Regions from separate parts of the Homo sapiens genome. Here region 2 is linked to region 1. Evidence: promoter capture Hi-C in human tissues and cell types (Jung and others, 2019). All regions are on one chromosome and are shown on one strand. Each heading gives the region's core, a stretch centred on a gene start or on the middle of the fragment in contact. The rest is flanking DNA. Distances are from core to core; before and after follow the strand shown. Region 1 holds the start of RD3 (RD3 regulator of GUCY2D). Region 2 overlaps HHAT (hedgehog acyltransferase).

Evidence for each region. Contacts are between HindIII fragments. The study calls those that stand out against the background at their distance.
Region 2: a contact is called between a fragment that was not itself captured here and the fragment with the promoter of RD3 in region 1, in 1 of the 25 tissues and cell types used here (mesenchymal stem cells).

What each region holds. Positions count from the first base shown.
Region 1 is chr1:211,489,827-211,496,564 of GRCh38, forward strand. It overlaps RD3 (RD3 regulator of GUCY2D), which reads right to left and starts at 2,336. Exons shown (of 3, transcript NM_001164688.2): 1 at 1,942-2,336. The HindIII fragment of the contact is 12,360 bases long and covers 1-6,738 here.
Region 2 is chr1:210,446,158-210,452,895 of GRCh38, forward strand. All of the region lies in intron 7 of HHAT (hedgehog acyltransferase), which reads left to right. Among named protein-coding and RNA genes, the nearest start is that of HHAT, 120 kb to the left of the region's middle. The HindIII fragment of the contact is 5,703 bases long and covers 172-5,874 here.

The sequences.
Region 1 (6,738 bases), core at 1,086-3,585:
CCCAGGTGGTGAGGCCTCAGGTTTACAGAGCAGAGTGGATGATGGGGAAGCCCTCGCACGTTCTGTCTCTGCCTTTTGGTGTCACTCACCCACGCCCGTTATCTTCCATTCTCTGATCTTCTCTTTCCTCTTTCCTTTCTCCTTCATTACCCCTTCCACCCCCACACTCTCAGAGCCTTCCTTTCAGCCTATTTTTGAACATCCCTGAGGATAATGTCTTTTCTGTGGCTCCTGGGAGGCGCCACTACCAGCTGTGGCTCGTTAGCTGTGCTGGAAAAACTCTCGCGTTGTGCCTCAAGGGCAAGAGGAGTCTCTGGTTCCACTTGGCACTCAGAGGGGGACCAGGGATGTCTCAATGGTGGGAACAATGGGGAGTGTGACCTTGGAGCTGGAAGCAGGGCTCTGACCCCCTGCAGGAGGGATGAGAGTGCCCTCACCTCTAGTGAGAACTGAGGCCCTGCGCCGGCCCCAGCCAAACAGTGAGGGCGTGCAGACCTTGCCCAGGAAGGCCAATTTCTCAGTGCAAAGGGAGCCATGGCCAGGGAACCCGGCCCGGGTCCTCCACCTCTGAAGCTGAGCTAGGCATCTGCAGGCCAGGGTGAGGGGCTGCCCTGTGTGACCCGCCGGACCCAGGCATAGAGCAGCACCTGAGTCAGGCTGTCCCAGAGCACTGGCAGCTTCACTGCAGGGGCAGGCTGGCTCTGCTGACGCCAGACGCTCAGTCTGGGCAGAGACTTCTCAGTGGGGGCAGAGAGTAGGTGCTTCTCTGGCTAATCTGCCTCCCAGCTCTGTGTTTGATAAGGCCCAAGTCCAACTTTACAGATTGCAAATTGACCTTATTTCTCTTTGGCATCACAGAAAAACAACCTATAATCCACCAAGCCAGATATGAGCGGGCCTGACCTGTGGATCCTCTGCCCACCTGACAGACATCTGCTCATTTGTCGGGAACCCCTCAAGAGACAACTCCTCCCTGCAGCCGGCCCCTCACTTCCCCCCACCCATGGAGCACTGATCCCAGCCACCAGGGCCTGACACAAGGGCCCATCACCATGGCATCTAGCAAACACGTTTCTCACGCTTTGGGTTGTATTTATCTCTTCCCCACCTAGCTATGAATTCTGCAAGGGCGAGAGGAATGTGGGTTGAATCTGCTGCACATGGTAGCACTTGATAAGCGGTTCCTGAATGAATGAGTGAATGGCAGCCAGTCCTTCCCATTCTGAGGCAGAGGTGCAGCCAGGAGAGGGCGTGTACACAGGTCTGACTGACCACAGTGGGAGGGGACTGACCCTCATCCCTTGGTCGCAGCTGGACTTTCCTTCTAGGCCCGATCTCCCTGGCGCCCCACCCTGCACCCATCTGCCTGGGCCCACTCTCCTGGGCATGTTATCAGGGATGCACAGACTGCTCCATGTTCGAGGGGACTGAGGCACATCCATCACCCTCGTGCCCTGGGTGCTGCTGCATCCCCAGAGCCTGACTCTGTGCCTTGGACTTAGTAGATGCTCGAATCACAGTTCGCAAACCCATGCAAGAGTCTCTGATTTGGGTTTCGCTTTCCTTCCCCCTGCCTGTGTCCACTCTATAAAGGCAGAAAGGAACCTGCTGGAGCTGGGTCCTCCCCGAGAGGCTTGCAGTTCCAGAACAGGCAAAAACAATGGCTTCCCACAGGTTTACAAAACAAGGAGCAGGCTATAGCCCCGAGGAAGCTGCAGGACCCTCATCGGTTCCAACTCCTGTGGAACTGATGAGGACTAAAGGGGCCTTCCTGTGGCCATCTGGGTCCCGGAGGTGGGCGGCTTTCTAGGCTCCCCAGCCTGCCACACCCCTTGAGGCCACCCCACCCAGCTTCAAGCCTCAGCCCTAACTTCCAAAGGTGCAGCTGTGCCAGGGTGCGGGTGGGGAAGACACTGTCTCCTGGGGAGACCTCCATCTTACCTCTGAGGTCAGCCTCTGCTCAGGTGCAGCGTCACAGCAGGGGGCCTGCGTTCTGCTTCCCAGTCTGGGAGAAGAGAGTGTCTGGATATTTTCAGGAAAAAAAAAGAAAGTTGAGCAGCCACAGCAGGGCAGGGCAGTCTACATCCTCAAGTCTCCCTCAGCTTCTCTGCTGCTGCCGGCTGGCCTCAAATTTTGCCTCTCTTTGGTTCTCTGAGAAGTTTTACCAAGAGAAGAGACAGGAGGAGAGATCCAGCCTGGACTATTGTTTGTGGGGTGTGTAGGTGTGTGTGTGTGTGTGTGTGTGTGTGTGTGTGTGTGTGTGTGTATGCGTGTATGTATCCCGCGAGGCTGGAGCCACAGCTTCCCTGATGAACCATGGAGGCGGGCCAGCTCCTGAGCTGCGGTTGCCCTGGAGACCCACCTAAGCCTCTTTGCCTGGAGCAGCATTATCTGTAGAGGGAGTGGCTGATCTGACACAAAAGCCTGAGGCGACCCAGGCCCAGGCAGTGAGGGAGCACTTGTGTCCAGATGGCATTCTGTCCGCTTCCTCCTCCAGCCGGTGCTCAGTGTGGCACAAACTGGGCAAGACCATTCTCACCCAACCCTCTGCTGAGCCCTAGGTGTACCTGCTGTTGGCAAATGTTTCCAGCTGCCTGGTGGGTGGCTCCTGGATGGAGATCCCCTCTTTCTATCAGCTCCCTCCTACAGGGAAGGGGTGATTCTGGGTGCTGAGGACAGGGACCTGTGAAGATACATCTCCGCCTTTGCCCCACCACATCCCTTGCCTGTCTTCCTCTCTGCTTATCTAAATTATTTCCTTCCCTCAAGGCAAGCTCAAGAGCAGACAGTTCTGACTTTCAGAAGGAGGGGCTGTCCAGGGAGAAGAGGAACATGGAACAGAAAGCATTGACGTTGAGGTATTTGAGATAACATTTGGGGATAGCAGAAGCATCCTGTTGCTGTTCTGCAGCATCCCACACTCATGTCTGGGCCTCCTTCCTGTCTCTGCTCTCTGGTCACGCTGTCACTTGTAGACTGTTCTGCCTAGAAGCCATGTGTGGGCCAGCTTGCACCTAACAGACATTAGGTAGCACTAAAACAGATGCACACTGCCCTGTGAGGGGCATGGGAATACTGTAATGGGCATGAAGCTGCATTATAATAGATCTTAGGTAATCCTGTGCTGGGTGATAGCGTGACTTTTGCACACATCTGGTTTTGATTGTGTTGGAAATAAAGCAGAAAGTACAACCAAGAATAAATTAAACAATGGCTGATGAAATGGACTCAGGTTGCCCACCTGCCTGCCTGCATGATTTCGTCCCTGGGTGATTTGTCACTTCGTGCTTGCTCTGTGGCTGGTTCCACTCAGCTGGTTCCATCCGCCTTCCCTCTTCATCCATCAAGCAGGCAAGATTCTTGAGTCAGGAGTTGGATCATATACTTCTCTTGACCAGTTCACAGCACGACAGCCCCAAAGATTGAGTGGGTCACTTGGGGATGGAAGATCCCCACATTTGAGGGAGCTGAAGCTGACTTCCTCTGACCCACAGTTCCCAGGCGGCCTCCACCTCAGGGCCAGCTAAGGCCAGAGTCACCCAAAGCAGGTAACTGGGAGTCCCCACCTCTGAGCACCCCACCACTATCCTGGCACTTTCCCAAGGGGCGTGGCTTGGAGGTCCAAGGGCAGAAATTCCCAGGCATTTCCACACTGTAGGGAAGGGAGCAGGGGGATGACAAGACTTTACCTTCCCTTTAGGAAAGTTGCTGGAGGCAATGAGGAGAGGAGGGCATGGACTAAGTCACATGCTCATCTGTGCAGCACGTATTTCTAAAGCACCATTCTACAGGGGCACCAAGCTAGGAGCTGGCTGAGCCTGGCTCTCCTCTCTGCACACATCCCAGCCAAGCCTGTGTGTGCTGGATTGCTGGATCAGATGAGGAGGAGGTGGAAGTCTGGCAGGCAGGTGGGGAGCAGGGACAGCATTAGGGCCCAGAGTTAAAGACTTTTATCTCCAAGTAGTACAACCTTGGGTCTGCTACTGACCATTCTGTGTTTGAATAAAAACAATTCATCCCTTTTCTATAGCCATGCTTTTGTATTAATATCTCCCCTTCTAATGCACACACAATGAATGTAAATGAGATCATAGAGGCCAATGTCTTGAGCCATCAGAAAGATTTTGTCGCAGCAGCTGCCAGATGAGCTTCAGGACTCCTGACCCTGGGATGCCAGGGAACAAGCACACAGACGACTTATAGCAGTCTCCCTGGCAGACGCAGCTGGCCCCTCTCCTGCATTTTTCAAATGGTGCCTGTGATTAGAAGAGGGAGGCACTCCCTAACCCACGACCCTCCCTGACAGCTGCCTTGATACCGTAACTCACAGGCCTTGGTGGGTGTGTTGACTCCTCATTTATTCTGATTTGTTCACCTGTGGAGGATTTGTGATTATCCTTGCTGAGTGTGAATTTGCTCTGGGGAGAAAAGGTGGCGGTTGTTTTTCTCTTGTTTGGCGTGGATGGAAGTTGCTGAAGCATAGATATTCAGCAACCATCAAATGCAGAAACACCGGTGGGGCCCGCAACATTGCCTCATAGATGGCATTTGATTAATAAATTGGAAATGTGGAGTTATGAGGCGATTACATGCAAGGCTGGATTAAAATCCGCATGGAGATTAGAGATAAGCCCCGGCTCTGCGTGTGTGTGTGTGTGTGTGTGTGTGTGTGTGCACGCGCGCGCTCCGTTCTCTCCTCCCTGGAGTCTTTCCAGGCTATTTCAAACCATTTCTAACCACTCAGTCATGCGTTGGGTTTTCCAAATCCTGCAGAAGGTCTGTGTAGCCCTAATCCCAAAGAAGTTGAATTAAATGGACAGAATATTCATAGGTACAGACCAGATTTGCAGTTACTTAGACCTCTTCTCTCTGGGCATCCCTCTTTCTATTCCTGTGGTCACATTTCCTCTCCAGGTGCTACGGACTGAATGTTGTGTCCTCCCCAAAATTCAATCTTGAATCTCCCAAGGTGATGGTTAGGAGGTGGGACCTTTCGGATGTGATTAGGTCGTAAGAGGGGAGCCCTCAGGAATGAGATTACTGCCCTTGTGAAATGGTCTCAGGGAGCTTTTTGGCCCTTCTACCACGTGAGGACACTGTGAGAAGATGCCTCCATCAACTAGGAAGTGGGCTTTCAGCAGACACTGAATCTACTGGCACCTTGATCTTGGACTTCCCAGCCTCCAGAGCTGTGAGAAATAAATTTCTGTCATTTATAAGTCACCAGTTTATGGTATTCTGTAATAGAAGCCTGAATGGACTCAGACATCAGGTACAGGAAGCAATGTGTCTGACGGCAGGAAAAATGAGAATGCTCCCTTCCCTGCCAGCTAGCTGGGAATGAGGCATAAAGCACTTCTCATTCATTCATTCATTCACCAAGCATTTATTGGCTATATACTCTGTCTAGACTGCACCTTGACACTCCATTTCCATAGACTTCACTGACCACAGCTTCTTCTTCTTCTTTTTTTTTTTTTTGAGACAGAGTTTTGCTCTTGTTGCCCAGGCTGGAGTGCAATGGTGCGATCTTGGCTCACCACAATCTCCACTTCCCAGGTTCAAGCAATTCTCCTGCCTCAGCCTCCCGAGTAGCTGGGAGTATAGGCATGTACCACTACGCCTGGCTAATTTTGTATTTTTAGTAGAGATGGGGTTTCTCCATGTTGAGGCTGGTCTCGAACTCCTGACCTCAGGTGATCCACCCGCCTCAGCTTCCCAAAGTGCTGGGATTACAGGGGTGAGCCGCTGCGCCCGGCTACAGCTTTTCAGTTCTGCCCTGTAGTCTGATGGACTAATGTGAGGGCCTGTGGCAGAAACAGCTAGCTGTCCACCAAGAGTCACATTTCTCCTCCAGAGTACATGAACATGTAGTAGACATGTTCCTAGGAAGCAGCTGTCCAGCTGGGGACTTCATTCCCCATCCCTCCTCCCATCTAGGTGGGGCCGTGTGATGATAGGGTGTAGATGGAAGGGACATGAGTCACTTCAAGGTGTGGCAGGTAGACACCCCTGTGCAACTGTCCACCTTCCACCTTTCCCCTTTGCTGATCGTCAGCCAGGACTCTGAGGCCCTCGGGGTGGGGGAGACACAGTTTTGAAGGCGTTTAGGTCCCTCAATCACTTCATGAAAAGCTGCTCACCCATCATTCATGTTGAACTCTAATGTGTGCAAAAAATCATATGCTTGTTGGGTCAAAGCACTGAGTTGGGGTTTCTCTGTAATAGCAGTTGGCACCACCCAGCTCACAAAAAACCCTGTGAAAAGGGGTGGGTGTGGAAGTGCTGCCCTTTCCTAGGTTCCTGGACATCAGGGCTCTTCCTGACATGTTCGCCGCTGGTTTTTTCACCATCACCTTAAAGACATTACTTCATCCCCTGTTGTCTCATGCCCCTGTGCATGGTGCCCACTCTACCCAGAGTCCCCTCCTACCTGGGGAAGTTAACTTACCCCTCAAAGTTTAGCTTCATGGTAACCGCTTTGTGAATTATCCTCTGTCTGCTGCTCCCTCCTCTCCACTCTGAAGCCTCATTCTTTTTTTTTTTTTTTTTTTCTTTTGAGATGGAGTTTTGCTCTTGTTGCCCAGGCTGGAGTGCAATGACACGATCTTGGCTCACTGCAACCTCTGCCTCCTGGGTTCAAGCAATTCTCCTGCCTCAGCCTCCCAAGTAGCTGGGATTACAGGCGTGTGCCACCACACCCAGCTAATTTTTGTATTTTTAGTAGAGCCAAGGTTT
Region 2 (6,738 bases), core at 1,773-4,272, 1.0 Mb before region 1:
GTCCCCAGCCTTTTGGAACTGAGCTTTCCCAAAAGACAACTGGGGCCTCACGGGAGCCTTACAGGGCTTCTTGGAGGTCAGATTGCCTGAGTATTGAGGTTATGAACCTACCGCTTATATATATGAGTTTTTAGATAGCAGAAACTTTTCTTCTTGAAAGATTATTGTTTGAAGCCTTTCAAATATGTTCTTCCTGTTTATGGAAAAAATACCATATTAACCAAGATACCAATCACTGGATGCTAGGAATAATGGGACGATCAGGACTTTGGGATTGTGGGGTGTAAAACTTGCTCTACAATGATGTGACCTTGTTAAAAAGCAGAATGTTTCTGCAGTTGTGTGCTGGCTTTTCATTGAGCTTAGAATAAAGCCAGTCTGATCCTCCTTAACAAAACACCACGTGGTCCGGCACCTGCCACCGTGACTCATCTCCTCCCACCCTTGCCCCGGCCTCTGTGCTCCTGCACTGTGGGCTTCCTGCTCATCTTCAGAAAGAGCAAGCATGGTGCCACCGCAGGGCGCTTTTATGAGCTGTTCCTTCATCTTAGAATGCTCTTGCCTTTCGTCATCATATGACTTCCTGTCATTCCCATCTCTGCTTAAATGTCATTGCCCCAAAGAAGCTGTCCTTGGTGACTCAAAGAGAAACAGACAACCAGCGTTCTGCATCACCAGATTTTTTTCTGTGCGTAGGACTCATTGCCATGTGAAATTTTCCTCTTTTGTCTGCCTTCCATCCCAGAGTCTATGTTCCATGGACATAGGAACCTTAGTGAACTTGTTTGTCATGGTGTCCCCACTGCCTAAAACAATAGATAGCTAATAATTGACACTCCATAAATATTTGTTGAATATATGAGTAGTGCAGCGGGTCAGGCTAAACCCCTTTATAGGTTGTTAAAAGCAAGTATCCTCAATAGACTCATTTGGGGTCTGAAGATCTGAGCTTTAGTCTTAACCCCATATCCACTAATTCTGTGACGTTGGGAAAACCACTTATCATCTCTGAATCTCAGTGTACTTATCTGTAAAATAAGAATCATAGTACTTACACAGAGAACCTCATATGGTGGTTGAGAGGAATAGCTGTGACAGTAGATGTGCAAGCTGTCTGTAAGCTTTTCAACAAATGGACATTATCTCTACTGGTTTATTACAAGTAATTACAGGAGACTACCATAGGGTGCTTCCAAAGCTTGGAAAAAGGGAAAATACAGCCCACTACAGAGAGAAGACTTTTATATCAGTGCACGATGGATTAGAAACATGTATTTTGGTGCGCACTTGATTGAGGATAATTTAATTGGAGGCTTTAATCATACCCTTGGAAAGATTTTGCCGATCAGAAAGGGAGTTGGTTTAGTCAGAATTAGACAAGGAAACATCCAAAAGGCAAATCCTGACAATTCCCAGTCAAGCATTGGCTGAGGAAAGATGTCCTGGTTCAGCAATTTGCTTTGTCATGTCAGGTGGCAGAATATCCCTGTGGAGGAGACAGGTGCCTCCAGCTTTCAGAGCTTGAAGTCACTGAAGATCCAGGTTCTTGAACCAGGGCCAGTGTCCTGGCCCTGATTTCTTTCTCACCAAGCTCTCTGAGTGCATAATTTGACTTCTTATGTGGCTGACTTAGAGAAGATACGAGGCCCCACATTCTGGTAATATAGATCTGTCTCTATGAGCTGGGTTAATGTGTGTCTACCCCTAGACACAGATCTGTCTCAGGGTGCTGACAGATGAGGCTCCTGACCCACAAAGCGGAGGACCCAGACCCTGGCTGAGGTGACTGTCAGTGTACAGCCACCTTGAAGGGGATGTGGCTGGATGACCAGCTGCCTCGATCAGGGACTCCCACTCGGTAGCATAACTTTCCATCTGCAATGTGGTGATAGTTTAATTTGACAGTTTATTTGGTTAGAGGTTCTTTTTTTTTTTTTTTTGAGATGAAGTCTCGTTCTGTCACTCAGCCTGTAATGCGGTAGCTCGATCTCAGTACTCACTGCAACCTCTGCCTTCCTGGTTCAAGTGATTCTCCTGGCTCAGCTGCCTGAGTAGCTGGGACTGCAGGCGCCTGCCACCATGCCTGGCTAATTTTTGTATTTTTAGTAGAGACGGGGTTTCACTATGTTGGCCAGGCTGGTCTTGAACTCCTGACCTCAGGTGATCTGCACACCTCAGTTTCCCAAAGTGTTGGGATTACAGACGTGAGCCACTGCACCCAGCAATTAAGAGATTCTTGAATGTAATTGGTATTTTGTGTGTGCATATGAGGGTTTATCAGTCTTAGCGTAATAGTTTAGGGTAGACATACTAGAAGGGGCCAGGAGGTGGCAGTAAAAGATAGCTAGTCATTTAAGCAATTCAAATTAGACCAAATTAGCCTAATATTCAGCCTCTCCAGGGCAATTTACGAAGTATTGAGATTGGAGGAGGCAGGATGGGTGTTGCTTCTAGACCAGAGAGAGAGAGTCTACCAAAGTAGCCATTCTCATCCCAGCTTTCATGATTTCCCTGAATCTTACTTTAAACTGTTTTTCATTAAATTTTCCTGTGAAATTAAAAAAATTCTCAACTTACTCTAGTTTTCAGATTTTATGTAGAACATGTTTTTATATATAGGCTGTAGGTTGGATTGTCAGTGGATTTCAGCAGTGAGGGTCTCCCAGCCCCTTAATTTCTAGATAAGGTGGACCTGACTCTCTATTCCCTAGATGGAGCGGGGCTCAGTGCTGTCCTGAGACATTTATTCCTGAACCGCTTCTGTCCCTCACCTCATGCATACATGGAATTGGTTCTGTTTGGGGATCATATCACTGTCCCCACTGAACATCACCCTGGCTCTCATGTGGCATTTGGCTATTTTTCTTAATTTGTACACACACACCATGCATGACACACACAACCACCAACAAAAATCATTTAGATGCAGCGTGTGTTAGAGGACTTTAATAAAGGTTTAGGAGACAATTCCACAAGCAGCTTAAAATTGGTGGTCGGACCTCCCGGGTCCCTCTGCCATGTCTGACACTCAGACTCTGGCCTCTGGCCATGCTGTTCTGTCTTCTCTATCTAGCTCCTTTTTCTGCCTTTTCCCCCCTTAGGAACAAAGCTCATCCTCTACTTTTTTTTTTTTTCTAAACAGACCAATCTTTCAAAAACACAAAATAAATCATATAATTTTCTTATTTGATTTCCCAGGTCTTCCTCTATAAAGTCGTGCTTCGTGGCTGACGAGTGTGACCCTTTCTGATCATGCCTTTCCCGTCGCTGAAGTTGCATCACCATTCCCGTCTACACTTTTTCCTCCCCAGCTGCGCTGGGATGGTTCATTTCTTCATGCTTTGTCTATGCCATTGCTTCAGGTTTTCTTTACCTAGTTAATTCCTCCAAAACATCTCACTTCTGAGCTGCTTCCCCTGAGTCCTCAGGTTTAGAGGGAGCCTCCCTCTGCTCCTTCATGGCTGTAATGAATTACTTTTCATTGGGAGAGAGAAGCTGAGTGTTCCAGTCCTAAACTGTTACTAATTTTGTGACACAGGGCATATTAAGGGAGGCTAGACGGGCTAGATGATTGTGAGTTATGTAAGTGCTGACCTTCCTCAAATGTAACTGTGATCATTGAAAAAGTGATGGTCATTTAATTCACATCAGTTCATCAAAGTTTCATTAGGTCTCCATAAAGAAATTTCTACTCGCTAATTCGCTCTCTAAATGTTGGGTGCCAGGTGCTGTGTCGGGCCACAGGGACAGAGAGGAAGTGGAGATTTCCAGAGGGAGGATGCATCCACAGTTCTGGAATTCGGGGGAAATATCAAAGTTAGCGATACGTATTTGGGATTCAACAGTGAGAATATGGGCTTGGCGTGGTGGCTCACCCCTGTTATCCTGCACTTTGGGAGGCCGAGGTGGTTGGATCACAAGGTCAGGAGTTCAAAGCCAGCCTGGCCAACATGGTGAACCCCATCTCTACTAAAACTACAAAAATTAGCGGGGCATGATGGTGGACGCCTGTAATTCCAGCTACTTGGGAGGCTGAGGGAGGAGAATTGCTTCAACCTGGGAGGCAGAGGTTGCAGTGAGCCAAGATTGCGCCACTGCACTCCAGCCTGGGCGACAGAGCAAGACTGCGTCTCAGGTGGGGGGGGTGGGAAACAGTGAGGATATGGCCATTAAAGCTATTGGGAAGGGTGCCAACTGGGGAAAATGTATGGAAGATCTGCATAGATCACTGGAGCCTTGGATACATCCTGCTTTTCAAACATTTCTTCTGTGAAAGGGAAGATGTTCTGAGTGCAACTTTCCTATTCTGAAGGATTAAAAAATTATTTTGTATCTTATTTTTAAAAAAATTTTTTTTGAGATGGAGTCTTGCTCTGTTGCCCAGGCTGTAGTGCAGTGGCATGAGCTACCGCACCTGGCCATATCTTTTATAATTGGTACATTGTAAATCTTTTTTTTTTTTTTTACATACCCCAAGGACTGTGACAATAGCAGAGGGCACATTTTATAATGAATCTACATATTAAATAAATATATAGATAAAATGTACAAACAGCTTTCCCCTGGAATGCTAGCAAATTTGAAAATTAGCTGAGGATTTATCTTTTGAGGGAGCTTTGATAACTGGCAGTAACGTTTTTTCTCTTCTACTTCCTACACTATGGGATAGGGTGGTGTTAAGTTTTGTTAAAAGTGCGGGCAGATCACGAGGTCAGGAGATCGAGACCATCCTGGCTAACACGGTGAAACCCCGTCTCTACTAAAAATACAAAAACAAAAATTAGCCGGGTGTGGTGGTGGGCACCTGTAGTCCCAGCTACTTGGGAGGCTGAGGCAGGAGAATGGTGTGAACCCGGGAGGTGGAGCTTGCAGTGAGCCGAGATCATGCCACTGCGCTCCAGCCTGGGCAACAGAGCGAGACTCCATCTCCAAAAAAAAAAAAAAAAAAAAAGTTGTTTGTAGCACTATTTGTGGAAGTATTTTTAGCAGAACTCTGCAGAGAAGCTTGGAGCTTGGTTTCTCTGGTAGGGAGTATTAGATTGGGTCTGGGTCGCCGCTGATCTTTGCTCTCAGACTAGCAGAGCATTGTTTCTTCACAACTAAGTTGTGCTTATCAAAATGATAGCAGTCTTTAGCTAATAAAATGAAAGGTCACTTCTGTGGCATAAGATTTCTCTTTGAAATTCCCTGCATGTTCTCTTTTTGGATAACTCAGTGATGAATGTCAGAATGAATTTGGAACATTACCTTTGAAATTCTGCCACAGAACAAACTGAACGAGAAAGGTGACTTTTTTTCTTTTCTATACCTGAAAATCAGAAAATATTAATGAAATTAGTATTTGGAAAATTAAAACAACAGAAAGGTAATTTCTATTTTTCCAAGAAAACTGCTATTTACACTTTGAAATATCTTTTTATATTTATATTTATTTATTTAGAGACAGGGTTTCACCCTGTTACCTAGGCTGAGGTGCAGTGGTACGATCATAGCTAACTACACCCTTGAACTCTTGGGATCAGGTGATCCTCCCACCTCAGCCTCTCAAGTAGCTATGACTGTGGGCATGCATTACCATGCCTGACTAATTTTTAAATTTTTTATAGAGACATGGTTTTGCTATGTTGCCCAGGCTGGTCTCCAACTCTTGGTCTCCAGTGATCTTCCTGGCTCAGCCTCCCAAAACATGATATATCTTTTAAAAAATGGGAAAAGAAAGTAGGGTATGGAACTTGTAACCTAGATCTCTAAAACTTGACTGGGCATAATTTTCTAGTGCTTGTTTTATATAGAGATTTCAGATCTCTGGCTCAGATACTAAACAGAATCTTTCAAGGAGAGGCTAGGATTCTCTGTGATTATTATCCCAGAAGGTGTTTAGGACCAGATGAATTTCAGAAGTGCTGTTGTAATTGCTAAAGATCACCATGGGGCATCTTGTTATAGAAAGATATTCTTCTTCATAGACTGCCAATTCCCAGCGATCTAAGGACTGATAAGCTAATTCATTATTCTGATCCTTGGCATTCTCCCCCTTCTCCCTCCCATAATTCGCCTCTCCATTTTTCTATTTTTCATGCTTTCTATGCACAAAGGCTGAGCAAGGAGGTGGGATTGTGCTGAGATAAGCCCATTTTGCTCATTGCCCCCTGCACATGCATTCAATTGGTAGTGAGGAGGAAGTTGAATATTTAGGGTTCAGGTGGGGGCTCTCAGTGCCTCCCCTTTTAGAATATTGCATTCTGGAAAATTAAAAGCATAAATGTAGAATTAACCCTAATGTATTCATCTCCCAGGTTCAACAATTATCAACTCCTGGCCAGTTTTCTTTCATCTGTACTCTCTCCCGTATTGTTTTGAAGCAAATCCCAGATATCTTATTATCTATGAATATTTCGGTAGTATCTCTAAAAGATAAGAACTGTTATATTCTTTTGAACTTCAGAATCTTCTAAGAAAACAGAACATGGCAGAGTGGAGCTATACCCTAACTAGGCAGAGCCTAGGATTAAGAGGAGCAAAGACAGTGACTTGAGGTTTTTCTTTAAAAGAGCTCAGAAAGGTAATATTTCTTCAATTTATTATTGAATGGTGCTTCTCTATGGTAAATCCATGGTAAATCCAGGTATATGAGTTTATGGGAGAAAAGAGAGCTTTAGCAAGGGATTTGAGAGTGAGCGAGGAGATAGAAAAGTGAAAATAATTGAAAGTTGGTTGTTCTTACATGGCAAAGTTTAT